7 separate regions of the Homo sapiens genome follow, and all the other regions are linked to region 6. Evidence: promoter capture Hi-C in 16 types of primary human blood cells and fetal thymus (Javierre and others, 2016). All regions are on one chromosome and are shown on one strand. The core of a region is centred on a gene start or on the middle of the fragment in contact, and the rest is flanking DNA. Distances in the headings are between cores, read along the strand shown.

Evidence for each region. The method cuts DNA at HindIII sites, captures the fragments that hold promoters and counts their contacts. A CHiCAGO score of 5 or more calls a contact.
Region 1: a fragment that was not itself captured here is called in contact with the fragment with the promoter of SSTR4 in region 6 in 1 of 17 cell types (neutrophils); the score reaches 10.0 in neutrophils.
Region 2: a fragment that was not itself captured here is called in contact with the fragment with the promoter of SSTR4 in region 6 in 2 of 17 cell types (neutrophils and monocytes); the score reaches 9.9 in neutrophils.
Region 3: a contact is called between a fragment that was not itself captured here and the fragment with the promoter of SSTR4 in region 6, in 2 of 17 cell types (neutrophils and monocytes). The highest score is 7.9, in neutrophils.
Region 4: a fragment that was not itself captured here is called in contact with the fragment with the promoter of SSTR4 in region 6 in 1 of 17 cell types (monocytes); the score reaches 6.7 in monocytes.
Region 5: a contact is called between a fragment that was not itself captured here and the fragment with the promoter of SSTR4 in region 6, in 2 of 17 cell types (megakaryocytes and M0 macrophages). The highest score is 5.7, in megakaryocytes.
Region 7: a contact is called between a fragment that was not itself captured here and the fragment with the promoter of SSTR4 in region 6, in 3 of 17 cell types (monocytes, M0 macrophages and neutrophils). The highest score is 9.4, in monocytes.

What each region holds. Positions count from the first base shown.
Region 1 is chr20:23,166,236-23,169,250 of GRCh38, reverse strand. The region is part of intron 2 of LINC03125 (long intergenic non-protein coding RNA 3125); the gene reads right to left. Among named protein-coding and RNA genes, the nearest start is that of LINC03125, 20 kb to the right of the region's middle. The HindIII fragment of the contact is 5,643 bases long and covers 1-3,015 here.
Region 2 is chr20:23,217,035-23,219,923 of GRCh38, reverse strand. No RefSeq gene overlaps it. Among named protein-coding and RNA genes, the nearest start is that of LINC03125, 70 kb to the right of the region's middle. The HindIII fragment of the contact is 8,690 bases long and covers 1-2,889 here.
Region 3 is chr20:23,190,335-23,193,317 of GRCh38, reverse strand. No RefSeq gene overlaps it. Among named protein-coding and RNA genes, the nearest start is that of LINC03125, 44 kb to the right of the region's middle. The HindIII fragment of the contact is 1,016 bases long and covers 874-1,889 here.
Region 4 is chr20:23,273,979-23,277,000 of GRCh38, reverse strand. No RefSeq gene overlaps it. Among named protein-coding and RNA genes, the nearest start is that of NXT1, 75 kb to the left of the region's middle. The HindIII fragment of the contact is 1,066 bases long and covers 992-2,057 here.
Region 5 is chr20:22,838,489-22,841,611 of GRCh38, reverse strand. No RefSeq gene overlaps it. Among named protein-coding and RNA genes, the nearest start is that of LINC01747, 150 kb to the right of the region's middle. The HindIII fragment of the contact is 571 bases long and covers 1,523-2,093 here.
Region 6 is chr20:23,033,701-23,036,704 of GRCh38, reverse strand. SSTR4 (somatostatin receptor 4) reads right to left here and starts at 1,393. Exons shown (of 1, transcript NM_001052.4): 1 at 1-1,393. The coding sequence starts at 1,221. The coding sequence ends at 55. RefSeq lists an enhancer at 306-852. The HindIII fragment of the contact is 5,481 bases long and covers 1-1,796 here.
Region 7 is chr20:23,256,711-23,259,830 of GRCh38, reverse strand. No RefSeq gene overlaps it. Among named protein-coding and RNA genes, the nearest start is that of NXT1, 93 kb to the left of the region's middle. The HindIII fragment of the contact is 584 bases long and covers 980-1,563 here.

The DNA of each region.
Region 1 (3,015 bases), core at 12-2,511, 130 kb before region 6:
GAGCGTATTCTTTAGCAAGGCATTTGGTGGAGGCGCCATGTTAGCCACACTTGCCAGTTTTCCTACTCACGACTCTCCCCGGGAATGTCTACTCCTGCTCACTTCCCTAGTGGCCAGGTTTGTGTCAGGGACCCTGTTCGAGCCACATTGATAAAACCAGGAATGGAGAGCTGAGCAGAGCTGGGCCAGTTAGATTCTTTCTTTTGAGAATAGAAACAAAGGGTCCCGGCACACAGCCAGTGCTGTGCACAAATGCTTTTGCATTAGGACAACTCAGGGAGGGAGGCCACGCTGTGCCATGAACCAGCAAGAGATGTTCTGCAGCAGGGACACTAGAATAGGGGCAGTGGAGAGAAAAGGCCCAGCAGCCCAGGGAGAGGCAGAGTGAGAGATGAGAGAGAATGAGAATGGCCACGTGGGGATCAGTCATTACCATGAAGCTCAGCTGCATCTCCTAGCCCTTGTCACCTAGAGACACCTCTGTGTCCCTCTGAGAAAATCCCTTCTTTTTCTTGCTTAACATCATTTCTGTTCTTTGCAATCAAATAAGTATTGACAAGAATATGTTCTCCACAGGTGCTGGAGAGGATGTGGAGAAATAGGAACACTTTTACACTGTTGGTGGGACTGTAAACTAGTTCAACCATTGTGGAATACAGTGTGGTGATTCCTCAAGGATCTAGAACTAGAAATACCATTTGACCCAGACATCCCGTTACTGGGTATATACCCAAAGGATTATAAATCATGCTACTATAAAGACACATGCACACATATGTTTATTGCAGCACTATTCACTATAGCAAAGACTTGGAACCAACCCAAATGTCCATCAATGATAGACTGGATTAAGAAAATGTGGCACATATACACCATGGAATACTATGCAGCCATAAAAAATGATGAGTTCATGATATTTGTAAGGACATGGATGAAGCTGGAAACCATCATTCTCAGCAAACTATGGCAAGGACAAAAAACCAAGCACCACATGTTCTCACTCATAGGTGGGAATTGAACAATGAGAACACTTGGACACAGAAAGGGGAACATCACACACCGGGGCCTGTCGTGGGGTTGGGGGAGCAGGGAGAGATAGCATTAGGAGATATACCTAATGTAAATGATGAGTTAATGGGTACAGCACACCAACATGGCACATGGATACATATGTAACAAACATGCACATTGTGCACATGTACCCTAGAACTTAAGGTATAATTTAAAAAAAGGTTGTTGCTACTTGAAGCTATTTCAGATAATTTAAATTATGTTTTGAAACTTCTTAGTATTTTCTATTCTTTTGATAATGATCATTCAAGTATTGTTGTTTTTAAAAAATATCAATGGTAAGTTCCACCACCATTTGTATTTGTAAATAGATTGGTGGCTTTTTATTTTAGTATATATAAAGTGGAACTTTAACTTACCAGCAATTTCACTCGGAGGTTTTTACCCAAGAGAAAGGACAACATGTCTACAAGAAGACTTGTCCTTATGTGCTTGCAGCAGCTTAATTCAGCCAGCGGCCCTAGACTGAAATCAGCCCCCGTGGCCATTTGAGTGAATAAATAAACTGTGATGCATCCATACAATGGAGTATTACTCATCAATAACAAAGAATGAAGTAGTTATTCACAAAACACTGTAACTGATCCAAAGAAGCCAGACAAAAGAAAAACATCCCAACTGAGCCCATCCAAGGAAGGCCTGGGAAAAATTCTATGGCTGAAGATGGGACCTTCTGCAGGGCTTTTCCTGGGATGACCCAGTTTCGTTGTCTCCTGTGTGCTGCCACATTCACACACTGATGCCAAGATCTGCTTTGTTTTGTCTTTGGTGGGGAAAGGCTGTGATAGCTAGTCATGCCAGATGTTTTCTGCTTATACCTCTCAATTAGTGTTTTTTGTTTGTTTGTTTTTTTGTTTGTTTTTGAGACAGAGTCTTGCTTTGTCACCCAGGCTGGAGTACAGTGGTACGATCTTGGCTTACTGCAACCCCCGCCTTCTGGTTCAAGCGATTCTCCTGCCTCAGCCTCCCAAGTATCTGGGATTACAGGCGCCCATCACCATGCCCGGCTAATTTTTGTAATTTTAGTTGATACAGGGTTTCACCATATTGGCCAGGCTGGTGTTGAACTCCTGACCTCAAGTGATCCACTCGCCTCAGCCTCCCAAAGTGCTGGGATTACAGGCACGAGTCACCGTGCCCGGCCATCAATTAGTGTTTTCTAACATTTAAGTTTCTAAAAATTAAAGCCAGGTAGAATAAATGGTTGTGGAAATCTCACAAGAGTGCTCTCACACACAGATCTTACCTTTCTGCACGATGCCACCTGCCCACCTTCCCTCCTTGGCCCTTTTCTCTCTGTGGCAGACCTGGCCGTGTCCCGCCCATCCTCCCAGGGCTCTGCCCAACTTCCCAGGACCTGCTGGTGTAGTCATTCTGGTTCCTAAAGGCTCTTCCCAGAGCCACTGGGGCTGTGCCACCCACACTGCAGGTGCCTGGAAGTGCAGGAAACAAGCATCCCGGGAGGAGCTCCTGGCCAAGGCCCGAGCCAGCTGCTCAGAGCACACCAGCTCCCTTGCCCTGCCCAGGATGCCTCTGAGGCCCGGGGTTTGCCCAGTCTCCTAGAGCCTCTATGCAAGCATTAAGCTCCGTTGCCCACCTAGTAATGCTGGCTTGACAGAGCTCCATTCCATGGCACCATTATCCCCACTTCCCTCCTGGAGATCCCTGAACCTTCTAAATAGGTGGGAGTCAATGACTTGGATTTGAGTGAACCTAAACCAAAGCAAGCCCTGCATTAATTTTCTAAAGCATGTCTCACTGTGCTATGCCCTGGATCAAACACCTCAAGGGTTTTCTTGCTACTTCTAGGAAAAAGAGGGGACCCTTTGTTTGATGCTAAGACTTTCTTTATCTGTCCCAAGATTCCTTACCAACCTCACCTGTCTTTGATGCCTACATCATATCCACACCCTGTGTGCTCTGGGGCCCCCCGAGCCCCTTGGG
Region 2 (2,889 bases), core at 226-2,725, 180 kb before region 6:
AACTAGAAAACCTAGAGGAGATGGATAAGTTCTTGGAAATATACAACCCATCTAGATTAAAACAGTAAGAAATAGAAATTCTGAACAGATCAATAACAAGTAGTGAAATTGAAACAGTAATAAAAACATTGCCAACAAAAAAAGCCCAGGACCAGATGAATTCATAGCTGAATTCTATCAGACATTCAAAGAAGAGTTGGTATCAATCCTACTGAAACTATTCCAAAAGATAGAGAAAGAGGGAATGCTTCCTAAATTATTATATGAAGCCAGAATTACCCTAATACCAAAACCAGGAAAAGACATAATTTTAAAAAAAAGAAAACTACAGACCAATATCCCTGATTAACATAGATGCGAAAATCCTCAACAAACTACTAGTGAAACAAATCCAACAGTATATCAAAAAGATAATACAGTATGATCAAGTGGGTTTCATACCAGGGATGCAGGACTGGCTTCACATACACAAGTCAATCAATGTAATGCACCACATAAACACAATTAAAAACCACATGATCATCTCAATAGATGCAGAAAAAGCATTTGACAAAATTCAGCATTCCTTTATGGTTAAAGCCCTCAGCAAAATCGGCATAGAAACGACATACCTTAAAGTTATAACAGCCATCTGTGACAAACCCACAGCCAACATTAAACTGAATGGGAAAAAGTTGAAAGCATTCCCCTGAGAACTGGAACAAGACAAGGATGCCCACTTTTACCACTTGTATTCAACATAGCACTGGAAGTTCTAGCCAGAGTAATCAGACAAGAGAAAGAAATAAAGGGCATTCAAATGGACAAAGAGGAAGTCAAACTGTCAATCTATAAATTCAATGCAATTCCCATCACTGTTTGCTGATGACATGATTGTTTACCTAGAAAACCCTAAAGACTCATCCAAAAAGCTGCTAGATCTGATAAATAAAGTCAGTAAAGTTTCAGGATACAAAATCAAGGTACACAAATTAGTAGCACTGCTATACACCAACAGTGACCAAGCTGAGAATCAAATCAAGAACACAACCCATTTTACAATGCTGCAAAAAATAAAATAGTTAGGAAAATATCTAATCAAAGAGGTAAACGATCTCTACAAGGGAACTACAAAACGCCACTGAAAGAAATCATTGATGACACAAACAAATGGAAACACATCCCATGCTCATGGACAGGTAGAATCAACATTGTGAAAATGACCATACTGCCAAAAGCAATGTATAAATTTAATGCAATTCCCATCAAAATACTATCATAATTCTTCACAGAACTAGAAAAAAATCCTAATATTCATATGGAAACAAAAAAGAGCCCACATAGCCAAAGCAAGACTAAGCAAAAAGAACAAATCTGGAGGTATCACATTACTTGACTTCAGACTATACTACAAGGCTATAGTTATCAAAGCAGCATGGTACTGGTATGAAAACAAGCATGTAGACCAATAGAACAGAATAGAGAACCCAGAAATAAAGCCCAGTACTTACAGTCAACTGATCTTTGACAAAGCAAACAAAAACATCAAGTGGGGAAAGGACACCCTATTCAACAAATGTTTGTGGGATAATTAGCAAGCCACATGTAGAAGAATGAAACTGGATTCTTATCTCTCATCTTACACAAAAATCAAATCAAGATGGATCAAAAACTTAAAACTAAGTCCTGAAACCATAAAAATTCTAGAAGATAACATCAGAAAAATTCATCTATTGGCTTAGGCAAAGACCAGGAACCCAAAAGCAAATGCAACAAAAACAAAGAGAAATAGATGGAAATTAATTAAACTAAAAAACTTCTACACAGCAAAATAAATAATCAGCAGAGTAAATAGACAATCCACAGAGTGGGAGAAAATATTCCCAAACTACGCATCCAACAAAGGACTAATATCTGGAATCTACAAAGAACTTAAAAAATTCAGCAAGAAGAAAACAAATAATCCCACCAAAAAGTGGGCTAAGAACAGAATAGACTACTCTCAAAAGAAGTTATACAAATGGCAACAAACATGTGAAATAATGCTAAACATCACTTTTATCATGGAAATGCAAATCAAAATTACAATGTGATACCACCTTACTCCTGCAAGAATGGCCATAATCAAAAAATCAAAAAATAATAGATGTTGGTGTGGATGTGGTGAAAAGGGAACTGCTGGTGGGAATGTAAATCGGTACGACCGCTATGGAAAACAGTATGGAGAATCCTTAAAGAACTAAGAGTGGAAGTACCATTCGATCTAGTAATTCCACTACTGGGTATCTACCCTGAGGAAAATAAGTCATTATATGTAAAAGATACTTGCACATGCATGTTTATAGCAGCACAATTTGCAATTGCAAAAATATGGAGCCAACCTGAATGCCCATCAACCAACAAGTGGATAAAGAAAATGTGGGATATATCTATATCTATATCTATATCTATATCTATATCTATATCTATATCTATATATCTATATCTATATATCTATATCTTTATCTATACCTATATCTATATATACACACACACCATGGAATACTACTAAGCCATAAAAAGGAACAAAATAATGGCATTAATATCAACCTGGATGGAGTTGGAGACCATTATTCTAAGTAAAGTAACTCAGGAATGGAAAACCAAACATCCTCTGTTCTCACTCATAAGTGAGAACTAAGCGATAAGGACGCAAAGGCACAAGAATGACTCTGGGGACTTGAGAGGAAGTGTAGGAGGGGAGTGAGAGATAAAAGACTACACAATATGTACAGTGTACACTGCTTAGGTGATGGGTGCACCAAGATCTCAGAAATCATCACTAAAGAACTTGTCCATGTAACCAAACACCACCTGTTCCCCCAAAAATATTGAAATAATTAAAAAATTTAAGAAAACCATGATAATGTA
Region 3 (2,983 bases), core at 132-2,631, 160 kb before region 6:
GATAAACCAGTGGTGTTTTGTAAACCTGCATGCTTGAAGAGAACTACTAAATACTGATAGCATTAATTATGAATAACTGACAAAACTGTTGGTTCCTATCATTCAAGGTTTGTTTCCCCATCAATTAAAAAATTATAGATTTTTTCTTCTTATTCTAGAGAAGTAGATTTTTACAGTCAAGAATTTGAAAATACAGAAGAGTACTGAGACGTGAATAAAAATCTCCTATAACCCACCACAGAGCATGTTGATGTTAATAGCATTGTTTATATACAGACTTACACAATTAAACGGAATCATACAGAAAATGTCATAGAGCCTTAAAAGATCTTTATCATACAGTATTTTCTCGTGGCACACAATACTTTTTTCAAATGCAGGTTTTATGCATTCTACTGCATATGGCATCAAAGTTTATTTATTCCATCCCCTACCATAGTCCATGGTAGTTGTTTCCAAATTTTCATGATTCTATGTTAAACAGTGATAAACACTTTTGGATATTCATATTTGCAATTAACTCATTATCTTCTTAGGATAAATTCCTAGAATTGGAGTGGCTGGGAGGCAGTGTGTGCACATGTTAAAGGTTGGCAAGCCTTGTTGATGTTTGCCCTCCAGAAAGATTGCAGGAGTTCATTTTCCCACAGCAGTGCTGAGCGCCTGTTGCCCTGCCCAGCAGCACTGGGCATGTCTATTCTCATTGGCTTTAAAGATCAGAAACAGAAACAGTAATGTTTTGTGTTTCTTTATGAGATAATCAGTCAGATGCCACCACCAAGGAGACGTGAGAAAGACAAAGTTGACTACACGCACAGTTCCAGAGAGGAGGCCACCACATACAACTCAGGGCCACATTGGAAGCACCAAGCTTTGGTCAGATGGCAGAAGACAGGAGCTAGGGACAGCTTGGACCTCAGTCCTTATTTTGGTTTCGATGGAAAAGGCAAAACAGGGCAGTGTGAACAATTTAGAATTGGCCAATTGGAATAATTTTAGGGGGCTTTTGGTGGTCTCTAGTTGCCTGGTAGCTGGCCCTGGGCTTGTCAAGGTAGAGGAATATTGCCTTTTGAGATGTACAGGCCAGATAGAAGGGAATGGCTCTGGATGGGTTAGTTGGTGCATCAAAGGCATGCTCCCAGCTGAGTCTTCTGCTGTCTCTAAGAACTGGCTAACCCCAGAAGCCATCCTCAGCTAAAAAGTTTTTTTTTTTTTATATCAAATATCATACTCAACAGAAAATAAAAAATATATGCAAAACAGATAAGTAAACAAGTGAGACCTTTTTTTTATATCTGAACTGCAAATTTAAGAGCCTGCCTGGACAGGGGGCAAATCTCCATTCTCTGATGATTTCACATGCAGGGTTGACTATTCTTGAAACCATAAGGCTGAATTTTGTACCCTTTGAGTAGTTTTAGCTGTCAGTCAACATCCTCTGAGTAGATGATAAAAAAGGAAAGCACTTTTCCCCTGAAATTCATTGCAGGTCCTAGGTCTGGAACTGAAATCTCCCTGATGGTCACTGGTTATATTGTTTCTCTGGTTTGGGATACTTTGAAGAGGGCACCTGGAGAAGGGGACCAGGACAGGGCAGGTATGTAAGGGCTGGTGGTGGTCACTGAGGTATGTTTTAACTCTTGTTCTTCTTTCTCCATGCTTGGCTCTTTATATTTGCACATCAACAATCATAGACATGCTTTTTATCAAAAATGAGAGCATATTTGCTTGTGTTCTTGCTGAGGCTATAGGAGCAACAAGAGTTATTGGTCACACTTGGTTGGAGTTTAGATAACCTGAATCCCTACCCGGAACAGAAGTGCCTGCAGGCTGAAGAACTTCCTGAGGTGTCCATAGTGGGTCCCTTTTTGTCAATGGTGGGTAAAGCTTATACACAGTGGCACCAAATATTCTAAAGCCAGAGGTAAAAATCAGCCTCATCTCTTGGCTTCTAATAGCTCTCTCATTTTAATAACATTCACAGAGTCCCTACCATGTAGGAGTTTTATTCTGGAGAAGTGACAAAGTTTGTGGTTGAGATTTATAAACAAAGAGCCATATCTAACAGCTCCATCTATCCACCCACCCATCCACTGATCCATCCATCCATCCATCCATTCATCCATCTATTTATTAATTTATTCATCTGTTTATTGGATTTTTGCTATTGGTCAGCTAAGAAACAAACTCATCTTGTGTCAATTAAGATAAGTATAGTTGTGCTATGTAATTCACACTTAGTGAATTTAAACAACAGTTGATTTCATCTACATGTTACATGTTCAATACAGCTTACCTGGGGGGCTCTACTCCATGTCATTCTTACTCTGAGATTCAAGGTGATGGAAGGACTGCTACCTGGACATTGTAGGTCACTGTTGCAGAGGGAAGGAGAGCTCTGGAGGCAATTAAACTCTTTGGCCTGCAAGAGCAGATGCCATTTCCATCATGACCATTGTCCAGAGCCAGCACATGGCCCCATCTTCCTAGGGGACCAGGGTGGCCAATCCCTCCTTGAGCCTGGAGGTCAGGAATGGCAAGTATTTGCTGAACAGCGTCACTGACCACAGGTCTCCTCTCTGGTCTCAAGACAGATGGTTTCTAGTCACCTCGTGTTAAGATAGTTATTCACTTTGGTCAAGACAAGAGCTGCTCTTTGGTCTGGAGCTGCTGTTAGCGTGGGGAATTGGGCATGGTTTTTTAGAATGTGAATATAGATCTCAGGCCACAGTTTGGTAAACTTCACTGTTTGGAAAAAGTTTCCCTCTTACAGCTTAAATTTTTCTTTGCTACATATTTCAGATGAGGGAGATATAAAAGGGAAAAACAAGACATGCGCACATGTAATCCCAAAGCAAATACACCCAGAACCTCCCTCTCTTCTCTGTCCTGGTTTCATTTTTTATCTTCCTCCTTCCTTCTCAGTCCATGAGGCACTTGTTTCATTTTGGTCATTTTAATACTTGACTATTTCCTACATTAA
Region 4 (3,022 bases), core at 275-2,774, 240 kb before region 6:
ACAGATGAGCTGTTACCTAGGCTTTGTTGTTCCAATTATAGAGCACAGGCAGAGTAGATTTAGCATAATTCTTAAGGGCCCTAGGACTTTGGGAATGGAAGATGAGCATTGGCTTTAATTTAAAGTCACCAGCTGCATTAGCCCCTAAAAAAAGTCAGCTTGTCCTTTGAAGCTTTGAAGCCAGGCATTGACTTCTCCTCTCTAGCTATGAAAGTTCTAGCTGGCATCTTCTTGCGATAGAAGGCTGTTTCATCTATGAAAATCTGTTTAGTTTAGCCACCTTCATTAATTATCTTAGCTAGATCTTGATAACTTGCTGCAGTTTCTTGTGCTTTTACATTATGGCTTTTACAGGTGGCTTCTTTCCTTAAACTTCATAAACCAATCTCTGCTAGCTTCAAACTTTTCTTCTTCAGCTGCCTTACCTCTCTCAACCTTCACTGAATTAGAGCAGAGGGCCTTGCTCTGGATTAGGCTTTGGCTTAAGGGAATGTTGTGGCTAGTTGGATCTTCTAACTCCACCACTAAAACTTTCTCAAATTCAGCAGTAAGGATGTTTCACTTTCTTATTATTCATGTGTTCACTGGAGTAGCACTTTTAATTTTCTTCAAGAACCTTTCCTTTGCATTCACAACTCGAATAACTGTTTGGCACAAGAAGCCTATCTTCTAAGCTTAATGGTTTCTAGCTTTTGATTTAAAGTGAGAAATGTGTGACTCTTCCTTTCACTTGAACACTTAGAGGTTCACCGTAGGATTACTAGTTGTCTTAATTTTAATAGTGTTATGCTTCAGGGAATAGAGAGGCCCAAGGTGAGACAGAGAGATGCGGGAACAGCTGGATGATGGAACAAACATACACAATATTTATTGATTAAATTTACTGTCTTATATGGGTGCAGTTTGTGGTGCCCCAAAACAATTACAATAGTAATATCAAAGATCACTGACCACAGACAACTGTAACAGATATAATAATGACAAAAAAGCTTTAAATATTACAAGAATTACCAAAATGTAACATCGAGACATGAAGTGAACACATGCTGTTGGAAAAATGGCGCCCATAGACTTGCTCAACACAGGGTTGCCATAACACTTCAGTTTGTACAGAATGCAATGCCTGCAAAGCATAATAAAGCAAGAACAATAAAATTAGATATGCCTGTACATCCTACAGGTTCTGTCTCTCTGGAGACCCCGACTAATCCACTTTCTAAGACTCACTGGATGGTTGGATGGAATACATAACCAGCTGAGCACTACTTTAAACTTGTGAAACTTTATATAAGCACCTAAATAAATCAGCAGGTATTACTGATGTTTCCAGTGGGAACTCGAGAAAATCAGGACAACAGCAGAGTTGGCCTGGTGAGTTTTCTCTCTCTCAACCTCCCAAGTCCTCTCAATGAGCAAGTTGTTCTTTGTCCCATAGACACACCCCAGCTATGTCTACTCATTCTCCTCCTTGAGATATTTCTCTGTGTTCTAAGGTTTTTGTTCCTCATATTTCTAATATTCTTCCTTTCCCTTCAAAACCTCCTCTTTCCCATTCATCAGGAATTTGTTTAGAAAATGAAGTGCTGTCATGAATTAAATTATCCAAAGGCACAATGGGCCATGTGGAAAGAGCCGCAGAGACCCACATTCTCACTTCAGCTCTTCCATTCGCTGGTTATGTGACCCTGGTAAGAAATTTAACCTGCTAAGCCTCAGCCTCCTAGTCTGTAAAGAGGGGATGATAGTGGTTAATTCCGTGTATGTGTTGATTAAGTACCTGGCCCGTGGCTGGAAAGCAGAGTGAATTCCACTCTCCCTTCCTCTCCTTCACTGTCTTTGCCTTTTTGTCAAAGGTGGTGATCTATGTTTCTGACAGAAGAGACCCCCACGGTGGAAATACCTGGTGGACTGAGAGGTAAATGGGAAAGGCATGAGGGCATCAGGGCAGCAGGAGGCCCTGAGCTCACAGCCCACAGGCAACATCACCAGGCCAGCCTCTGACGCCAAAACATGGGGAATGTGTCGCAGGCAAAATCCACTTCATAAGCCCTTAAGCTTCATAAGAACGCCATCCGCTTCACCATGGCGCAGACCCAGCACCTCAGGTTAGGTAGGCGTGGAGCCTGCTGAGCTGAGGCTGCTCTGCAGCAAATCTGCAGGGAGAGAGGGTTTGAGTTTCTGGCATAGCCTGGGGACTTATGGGGCAGCGTTTTTCAAATTTGGAATTGTGCAAATTCCTTTTAAATGGGAAAATAATTTTTGTTCTTTTTTGGTGTTGACTTATTTTATTGTAATTTATCTGAATCTGTACAAACCTCAAAGTAGATGTAAGTCCTTGTTGCTTACGGGCCTTAGACCACTATGAAACCAACCCACATTTATAAATTAAATATAAATAAACCCGAAACAATTTAAATTCAGCATTTACAGTTTCTTGCAGTGGGCGTGTTTTGTTGAAACAACTTTGTCTCTGACAACATGGAGTTTGCGCCACCACTGCTTTCAGAGTTAATGTGAGCATTTCCACTGCTATTTGGTGGAATCATATGATGAGGGTCAAAGTTCTGACGTGAAGGGGCCATAATTAGAAAACCATTCTCAGACTCAGACCTGGGACACTGCGGGCCATGAGGAGCGGATGTGCCCACAGCGTTTCAAAACTGTATAATGGAGTTGGAAACATTGCAGGCATAGCACTAGTTTTCATCTGAATGATGCATGAGTTTAGAGAATCCACGGACTTCTTGAAATTGAAGGCAAAGCTTTTTATATTGTGAGTTACCTTCTAGGGTAAGGGATCCCATTGCTTTCATTGGAGTCTGTGCCCCAGTAAATGCTAAGAACCACAGAGCTATGCAGAACTTCCAACCTTCATGTCAAGATACACAAAGAAAAATGTATTTATGGGACAAGTATTTGTGATGACCTGGGGTAATCAAAGGATGTTGCTCTGGCCCCCTGAGTCTGGCTGCCCCGATGCCCTAAGGACCAAGGGGGTCCAGGCTTGGGCCCACTGTGCCCC
Region 5 (3,123 bases), core at 559-3,058, 200 kb after region 6:
AGCCCTTTGAAGGCTTTTTTCTGCCAGATCCGGGGCATTTTCTATTAAAGACAAAACAGAACACTGACCCTTCCGGGTATGGTTTCTGACTTTTATAAATTGCTTGTTTGATTTTTAAAGGTTATTCCTACAAGCAGACTTGGTACTTTAGTTGAGCCTTCTCAAAAGAAATTAATCTCCCAATTTATAGAGTGGTTTGTGTTTGCAGTTTAGTCTTAGAGTAGAATGAGACCAAGTGTATGCATAGCTTCTCTAAAGTCAACAGAGCGGAGCCCCAGAGACAAATTCACAGTTGCAGGACAAATGAGAAGAGGAAAAACAGCTCCTTGCTTCCTTTCTGAGGATGAAGGAAGTCTTTGGCTTTAGACAAAATCCTGCTGCTTCTGACTGCAGCCCCCAGGCAAGGACTCAAGTCATAAATAAATGCCAACTTTATCAACACCAAAAACCACTGTGGGAGACCTTAAGATTCCACCAATAAAGCTCAAATCCTGTCAAGTACAATCCTGAGCTACTTCAATATTGATCTTGATATTTATAAGGGAATGCTTATGATTTGCTAGCACTTTGTACTCTGTAGAGTCTGTGGTGTTCAAGGAAAGGGTTTTTATTTCCTAGGGAAGTCAGGTTTTAGGTCCATGTTTGTTTGTTTGTTTTAGAAATTAACAATGTCTTATTAGCATCCAGTGTTAAGATAATAAAGGTTTCTATGCTAAAACATCAGAAATGGTGTTAGCTGATAATTAGGTGTTAGGACTCAGCATGTGAGAAAAGATGACTTAGTCCTCTGCAAGTTGTACTGTCACTACTGTGGGCATTTCTTCAACATGAAATCCTCTCTGTGCTGCCTTTAAGTGGAGAGGATTTCTTGTTTAGTTGTATTAATAAACATAGCAAACAATGAGTCCCAGGCTAGTATAAACATCATTTTCAAAGTATTGACTGGCGTCTTTGTTATTTTTGCTTTCAAGTAGACTGCATAAAGACATTATTGGCTTGCTTCTGCTGATTCTATAAAATAGATATTTGCAAAATCTGAGGCTTGAAACAGGCAGATAGCAGCCCAGAAACTTGATTTTCTTAGTTTTCTTTCTACTACTGCATTGTCTCACGATTCTAAAAACTGGTAGCAGAGCCCAGTGTGGCCATCTCTTCTGTGGTATTCACTGGGAGTCACAGAATTGTGGGCAATTCCTTTGTCATTGTTTTCTTTGTTGTAGGTTTCAGGAGAAACTTTATTAAATTTATAGGTTTTCTTTGAAGTCTTGGATCCTAGTAAAAATAAAAAGAAAAATGTACTTATTGTAAGGAAAAAGAGCACTCATCTCAGTGAGAAAGAAACTGATGGTGTAATAGAGCATATGATTTCAGGATATAAACCATAAAGTCATATTTTTATTCTTCAAAATGGCAAACTTTTACATCTTTACCACAGCAGGCCTGATGAGCTCAGCCTGCTTTCTCCTAGCTCTTTCTTCCTTACACCTTGTTTTTTTTTTCCTTTTTAATACTCACTAAAGCTTTTCGTTATCTATTATAGCATTTTTCTTCTAATATCAATTTGTACTTTTATTTATAAGCAGCAAAAACAATTTTTCCTTAGCATTTCTTTATTTTCTTCCTATGTTGTTGAAAACTTGACATTACAGTGGGTCAGTTCCTTCAATAGCTGTTGAAAAGCCTTAACAGTAAAGTGTAATGGATAGTACCTGCCTGGCCTCGGCCAAGCCCAGCTGTTGCTCTTGCAGGAGGCAGACCTAGAAGAGGGGACTGAGACAGTGTTCCCAAACATGCCTGTCCCTGTTGTCAGAGCTATTCTGCAGCAATCCACTTCATTTCATACATTTCATATCCCATTTTAATTCCTTTAATTAAAGTAAAATTAAAATACCCCTACTGTATACTCGATGGAGTGGTTTCATGTTCCTTATCTTATTTAATTCTCATAAAGTTATTAGGCAAGCCTGATCACTCCTGTTACACACATTTTGTTCCTGGGCTCAGAAATCACAAGGCCCATCTAAAGTTATACAACTCAAAGTGGCAGTTACTTGTGCTATAGAATAAGGTTTAAAATGGATACAATTCAAGCTTTAAAAATGAACACAATTCACACATTGTAAATGTGTTTTCATTAAAATTTGGGTGAGCTTGTTACCCAGATTGTTGACAAAATACAAGGTGTTACTCAGTAACTCACAGCAGCCAGCACTTATCAGGCACCCTAGGACACAGGGGCGCCTACAAGGATGGCCTGGCCCTGCTTAGGTCTTGCTGTCTGGCTGTTGAAAAAGCCATTAGGAGAGGAGAGGGACTCCTGAAGATATTAAAACACACCGACATCACCATGAAGGGGTCACTAAGGATGGAGAGGAGGTGTGTTTCAGAGATAGAAGAGGAAAAACAACAGGATGTTTCAGTTATATTGGATTCGTGCAAAAGTAATAGCGGTCTTTGCCATTATTTTACTTTTGCACTAACCTAATAGCTTCATAAATATTTATGGTGGTGCATATTTCCTGAATTTAACCCATACACATACACCCTAAAATATTCTATTTGACAAACATTTCTCCAGATAGTGCAACAAGCTTCCATTTAATGCTATGGTCCACCTCGGAGAACAGTCTATTAACCAAAGTCTAAAAGATAGACAAGTACCAGTCTTATTCATCAACTCACATCTCTAGGAAAGATGATAGATCTCTTGGCTGGGCGTGGTGGATCACACCTGTAATCCCAGCACTTTGGGAGGCTGAGGCGGGTGGATCACGAGGTAAGGAGTTCAAGACCAGCCTGGCCAAGATGGTGAAACCTAGTCTTTACTAAAAATACAAAAATTCACTGGGCGAGTTGGCAAATACCTGTAATCCAAGCTACTTGGGAGGCTGAGGCAGAAAATTGCTTGAACCCAGGAGGCGGAGGTTGCAGTGAGCCAAGATCGCACCACTGCACTCCAGCCTGGGCGACAGAGCAAGACTCCGAGAAAAAAAAAAGAATGCTGATAGATCTCTTAGGCTCTCATTCCAGGGCCAGCAGAGCCTCCTATCTGGACAACCTGTGTTTAAGCCCAGTCCCCATGACTGCCCTGACTCAGTGAAAGGAAGAGCTGGTCACCATCTG
Region 6 (3,004 bases), core at 144-2,643:
ATGGTGCCCACCCCTTGGGAGGTGGCCACGCAGGGTGGGTAGGGGAAGGGCTCCTCAGAAGGTGGTGGTCCTGGTGAGGGGGATGCGCTTGCGGCCGGGTTCTGGTTGCAGGGCTTCCTGCTGGCAGGGGAGTGGGGGGCACATGCACCCTGCCCCACCTTTGCTCTTGAGAGCAGTGGCATAGTAGTCCAGGGGCTCCTCCTCAGCACCTCCAGCACCTTCCAGGAGGCAGCAGCGCAGGCAGAGAACCCGCTGGAAGAATCGGCGGAAGTTGTCGGAGAGGAAGCCATAGAGAATGGGGTTGGCGCAGCTGTTGGCATAGCTAAGGATAAGGGACACGTGGTTGACGGTGGCATCAAGGCTGGTCACGAAGAGGTTCAGCAGCTGCACCACGTAGAAAGGCATCCAGCAGAGCACAAAGACGACCACGACCATCAGCACCAGCCTGGTGATTTTCTTCTCCGAGCGCCTGCGCTGCTGCCAGCCAGCGCGCAGGGCCACGGCGCGCATCTTGCCCACGATGAGCAGGTAGCACAGGCCAATGGCCAGCACGGGCAGCAGGAAGCCCAGCAGGAAAGTGTAGACCACGAAGACTGCCGACCAGGCCGGGTGTGGCCACTGCAGGTTGCAGGCCACGGCCTGGCCGCCGCGAGCCGGTCTGGTGTCTGCGAAGATGGCGATGGGGAGAGTGACCAACAGGGATGCCAGCCACACGCCCAGGTTGATGAGCTTGGCCACGCTGGGCCGCCGGTAGGTCGCCGCGCGCAGAGGGTGCACCACGGCCACGTAGCGGTCCACGCTGAGCACGGTGAGACAGAAGACGCTGGTGAACATGTTGAGGCCGTCGACGCTGAGCACCGCGCGGCACAGCACGGAGCCGAAGGGCCAGTGGCGCAGGGCGGCCGACGAGGCCACGAAGGGCACGCTCAGCATGAAGAGCTCGTCGGCTACGGCCAGGTTGAGCAGGTAGATGTTGGTAGCCGTCTTCATCTTGGCGTAGCGAAGGATCACGAAGATGACCAGGGCGTTGCCCACCAGCCCCACCAGGCACACCAGCGCGTAGATGCACTGGATAGCGACCATGCCCGCCGCCCGCGCGTCCCCGGGCCCCGCCACCGCCTCCTCCGCCTCCGCCGGAGCGCTACTGGCATTGGCTGCAGAGGGCCAGGCCGTCCCCAGCCCTTCCTCGCCCCCGGGGGGCAGCGTCGAGGGGGCGCTCATGACCAGGGGTGCCGGCGCAGGGCAGCTGAGCGCGGCGGAGCTAGCGCTGCGCCAGAGAGCTCGGGCGGCGGGCCCAGGGCGGGGGCTGGCGCGCAGACGCGCGGCTCTTCCCGGCTACGCTGAAGAGCTGCGGGCACCGGGGAGCGCCCGCCAATCCCCGCGCCGCGCGCCCCACCGCGCGGGCGCCCGACTGGCTCGCACCGCTGTGGCCCGCGCCCCTCGGCACCCCAGCTCCTGGGGGTCAGCGCCTCACCCAGCCCTGGAGTCGTCTCCGGCCCCGCCCCGTTTTCCCACCTCGGTCGCCCCCTCCCCGCTGCCGACTCTGCCCCAGGTTCCCAGGTCTCCAGTCCGGCTCCAGTGTCAACAGCACCCCCAGCCCCGTCCGGCCCTCCCGGGGTCCCCCGCCTGGCTTCTTTCCTTCAGACCTCTATTCAGATCCCGTCTTCCCCAGCAGCCCTTTGAGGTCCAGTTCCCTGCTTTGCTACAGGGGGTCTGCGGCGGCGGGGCTGGGGGTCCCGGAGTCCTCCCTTTGGGTAAAGATGTGCCCGGAACTGGTCAGGGACCACCTGGAAGCTTGGACCACTTGCCTTGCACTTGACATCCCCTCACCCTGCCCTTTAATCCTCGCGACGACCCATCCTTGCACATGGCTGAGTCCCTTTTATAGAGGCGGAACCTGAGGCTTCCACTGGCGGCTTGGTGAATTTCAGGTCTGTCAGGATGTCCAGTTTTCCCCACAGCTCACCACTCCTTTCTCTGCTCCCCAACCCACTCTGGACAAGTGCAGATGCCGGACCTTTTAACTTCTGTGTCCGAGCAGCTGAGGTGCTATGGGCACAAGGAATGGAGACGGACAGGTGGAGGCAGAGATGCCACCAAAGAAGGCCAAGCCTGTGCTAGCTCCCTCGGGAACTGGCAGAAGCTACGGGAGCCGGACATCTCAGAACCTTCACCCTGTGACCTGGTTCAGTCATTATCCGCGGGTCTCCATCCCTGGCCACTAAAATGTGCCTGGGGAGGACTGTGGTCGAGAGGTCGGGAAAGAAAGGGGTTCCGGCCTGGAATTACCCTTCTTCTGCTAAACTCCAGAGATAGTGAGTTCACTGGCTCCTGGACTGGACACCCAGGAGCAGCCGCCGGCTCCAGCCCTAGTCCCTCTAGCTGGCACAGGGCACAGGAACGTTCCTGAACTGGGGATTGGCCTGGGAAAGTTATTCTTAAAGTAGCTCTGACTTTTAGGATCCTGGCTGTCTTTGGCCCCTTCTCTGTGGGATGGTGGCCCCCTTTAGCCCCCAGTACAGCCCAGAAAGGCCTTTAGTGGGTCTAAAATTGGCCACCTGGGGGGTGGGGTCTCAGCTTTCCGCTGGGTGGCTGGGACAGCGATGGGGAGGAGGGAGTCCTGTTGCAACTGGAGGAGGCCTTTCTAAGACTGGGGGGTGGGGGAAGCTGCCCACTGCTGTTTATCCAGGTGTGGGATGGGAGCACGGGCATGATCAGCACCAGTGCAGCCCCATAGTTGACCTCAACCACTGTCTCCAGTCTCTGCTACTCAAATAGATGTATTGGGAGGATTTGGTCTAGCACTCCTCCACTCTGTAGGTTGGTCTGTCCTTTCCTTTTTGTCCCTAAGAGAGAGACCTTTCACATCTTTGTCCTTAAGAGAGAGACCCTTCCCTGAGAAAGAGGAAGGAGATGGCACCTTTGTCATTCTACTTGGTGCCATCCTTTGGTGGAAGGGAACAAGAGCAACCTCAGATTTGGGAGGGAAGAGGAGTTTAGGGGC
Region 7 (3,120 bases), core at 22-2,521, 220 kb before region 6:
TGACTCCTCCAGTCTGGACTGAGGTCTAGATCTGGTGCATCACTGCCATCCTGGCATCTTCACTTGGAGTTCCTCCAGAGAGTCTCCTCTCCTCTCCTGTGCTGGATTTTCTGCTTCTTGGATTCTGTCTCACCACATTCTTTGATTCATTCTCTTAATTTGATGGAGTACAAACTCCAGTAGCTTCTTCAGAGAGAGAAGTGAAGGAACATTTCTGAGATCTCACATATTTGAAAATGTCTACAGTCTACCTTCCTACTTAATTGACTGGCTGGTGCTATGATCTGAATGTTGTTTGTCCCCCCAAAATTCTTATGTTGGAACCAAATCCCCAGTGCAATAGTATTAAGAGGTGGGGTTTTTGGGGGGTGATGAGGTCATGAGGGCTCAACCTTCATAAATGGGATTAGTACCCCAGGGAGCTTATCTGTCCCTTCCACCATTTGCATAGACAGGGAGGGGCTGGCTGTCTATGAAGTAGAGACTGAGCACTCGTCAGACACTGAATCTGCTGACACCTTGATCTTGGACTTTACAGCCTCCAGGACTGTGAGAAATTAATTTCAGTTGTTTATAAATTACCCAATCTAAGGCATTATGTTATGGTAGCCTGAATGGAGTAAGACAACCAGGTATAGAATTCTAGGTTGCAAATTATTTACTTTCACAATTGAGAAAGTTTTTGTTTGTTTGTTTGTTTTTTTGTTTTAAGATAGAGTCCCACTCTATCACCCAGGCTGGAGTGCAGTGGAGTGATCTCGGCTCACTGCACTCCAGCCTGGGCAATGGGCTGGGGAGCCTCCACCTCCCTGGTTCAAGCGAGTCTCATGCCTCAGCCTTCTGAGTAGGTGGGATTACAGGCACCTGCCACCACACGCAGCTAAGAGAAAGTCTTATGTCTTTGATTTATGTCTTGTAGCTTCCAGTGTGGCTGCAGAGAAGTCAGATGGCTTGCAACCCTTGATCTTTGGTATAAGCTTTTATGGTTTTGCTCTAGAATGCATAGGGATTTTTGATCTTAGTCTATTTTCTCCCAATGTGCTGGGCTCTTGAAGGGCACTCTCACCCTGGAAATTTTGTCCTGCAGTCATCTTTAGCCAGATTAGCAGGATATATTCCACAATGGTGTGGTTTATGATGCAGCTGGTTGGTTCCCTTGGTCTTGGCAGACAGAGTTTTCCCCTTCCCAGCTATGACTGCCTTGGAGCCTAGAGGAAGTTGAGTCACTTCCTGATACAAATCACAAACTGTGAAAAATGTTATGCTTGCAAGTGAATTTTCCACATATCTGAAGTAATGATGGCATAACAGGAGCTTTAAAAACACCGAGGCTTCATTGACACTAAACTGTAGAGCTTATAAAGTAATATGCAACCCATTGTCAGCTACTGAAAGATGAATGGGCCATTCAGGCTTCCGCTCTGGACTCGCCCAGGTTAATTCCCTCTTGCTCAGCCTAAGTGGCTTAGGAGTGAGCAGGGGGTTATTGGAAAGAGGAGGCTGACTATAAAAAAATCCTAGCAATATTGCATTCTGGGTTTATCAGTCATCAGGCACCAAGCTTTCTCACCAACAACATTTGCACAAATTCAGGCCAACCTCTAATCAATGATGCAATCCTTTCTCCTCTAAAGAAAGCCTTTTGAGTGTTTAATGGCATAATGATGGCTGCTGTTGATAAGGCTCACTCTGGGAGGTATGGCATCGGGCTTTATAAATGCTGCTTTTATGCCTCTGCACTGCGATGCCAGGCAGGGGTGATTATCCTCTCGTGATTTTGAATGAGCTGTGATTGGAACACTGTAGCACACTTGCCCAGGGCAGCAGAGACCAGATTCACATCTAGGTCTTTTTGCTTCAATTCCCCGGCTACTGGGCCACACTTCTCTTGATCCTCAGGTGGAAACATGTATATACTGACAGAGGAGAAAAGGGATGGCAGCCTATGAGGTGACCCTGTGGTGTGAGCATGAAGGCACGCCCTTCTGGGATGGGGGCTGTGTTCCTTTCCAGACAAACCACACAGGATAAAAACTGCTCCTTAGGTAGCACAGGATTATTGAAGGCCCTGAGCCTGGGGCAGAGCCTGGGCTCTGACATTAGCTGTGCCTCCTTGAGAAAGAGCTCTGCGCCTGATATTTTTTATTTGTAGATTGGAAATGAAAGTGCTGGCCTATTTGTGGTCACAGTGCTCTGTGAGGGCTCAGATGAGTAAGGTGTCTGCTAAGCAGTTGTAGAAACCTGGAAGCCCTGAGTGATTTTTTTCACCTGCAACTCCCAACTTCTTCAGTATGCTGGGTGTGGAGCTGAGGAATCGCTGCCCGAATAGACAGGTCTGTGCGCTTAAGTAGCTGGGTGGGTTTCTGCTTACATAGCACTTTTACTGTGGGAGAGAAAAGTGGCCAGCTTCTCTCTGGCCTGGCACTGGTACACTTGCCTTGAGGTGGGGGTGCGTCTCTTGGAACCCGGTGTGGAAGCGGAGCCTCTTCCTCCTGGGTGGGCGTGGGGCCCCTTGGGCTCCAGCCAGGATGGAGGGCAGGGTCTGGGGGAAGTGGGAGGGGCTGGGCTCATCTGCTCCCGGGGGAGGCATCTGTCTCTGTGTCTATTGTGTTTGTGCTCCCGGGGTCAGAACACGCCTTCCAGGGTCTTATCAATGATGAGTGACACTGCAGGGCTGGCCGCTGCTGGGGAAGGTGAGCTATTGGAAAGAACAGGTGGGAAGGTGGGAATAAGGCTTCCAGGGCTGAACTGCCAAATTACGTTTCCTGAGCTGTCCTTGTTATTAAGGGCAAATGCAAAACGACGTGTATGAGGACGTGTGCTCCTGGGTGTTTTTATACATCACCCTTTCTTTTTCTAGCCCTAGATAGGATGATCAGATCCACCATGCACTCATGGAGCACTTAAATGCTCACCACTTCCTAACATTATAAATGACGGCCTCTATTTTAAGATGCAGACACTGAGGTTTAGAGGGATTAGAGAAATTGGACACAGGATTTGGGTTGGAACCTAGGGTCTTTGTTGTTTAGTGTTGTGCTGGGGCACCTGGCCTCCTCCTGCTAAGAGCAACCTGCCTGTGATGCTTATACACACCGTACTGGGTTGAAGAGCACCTCC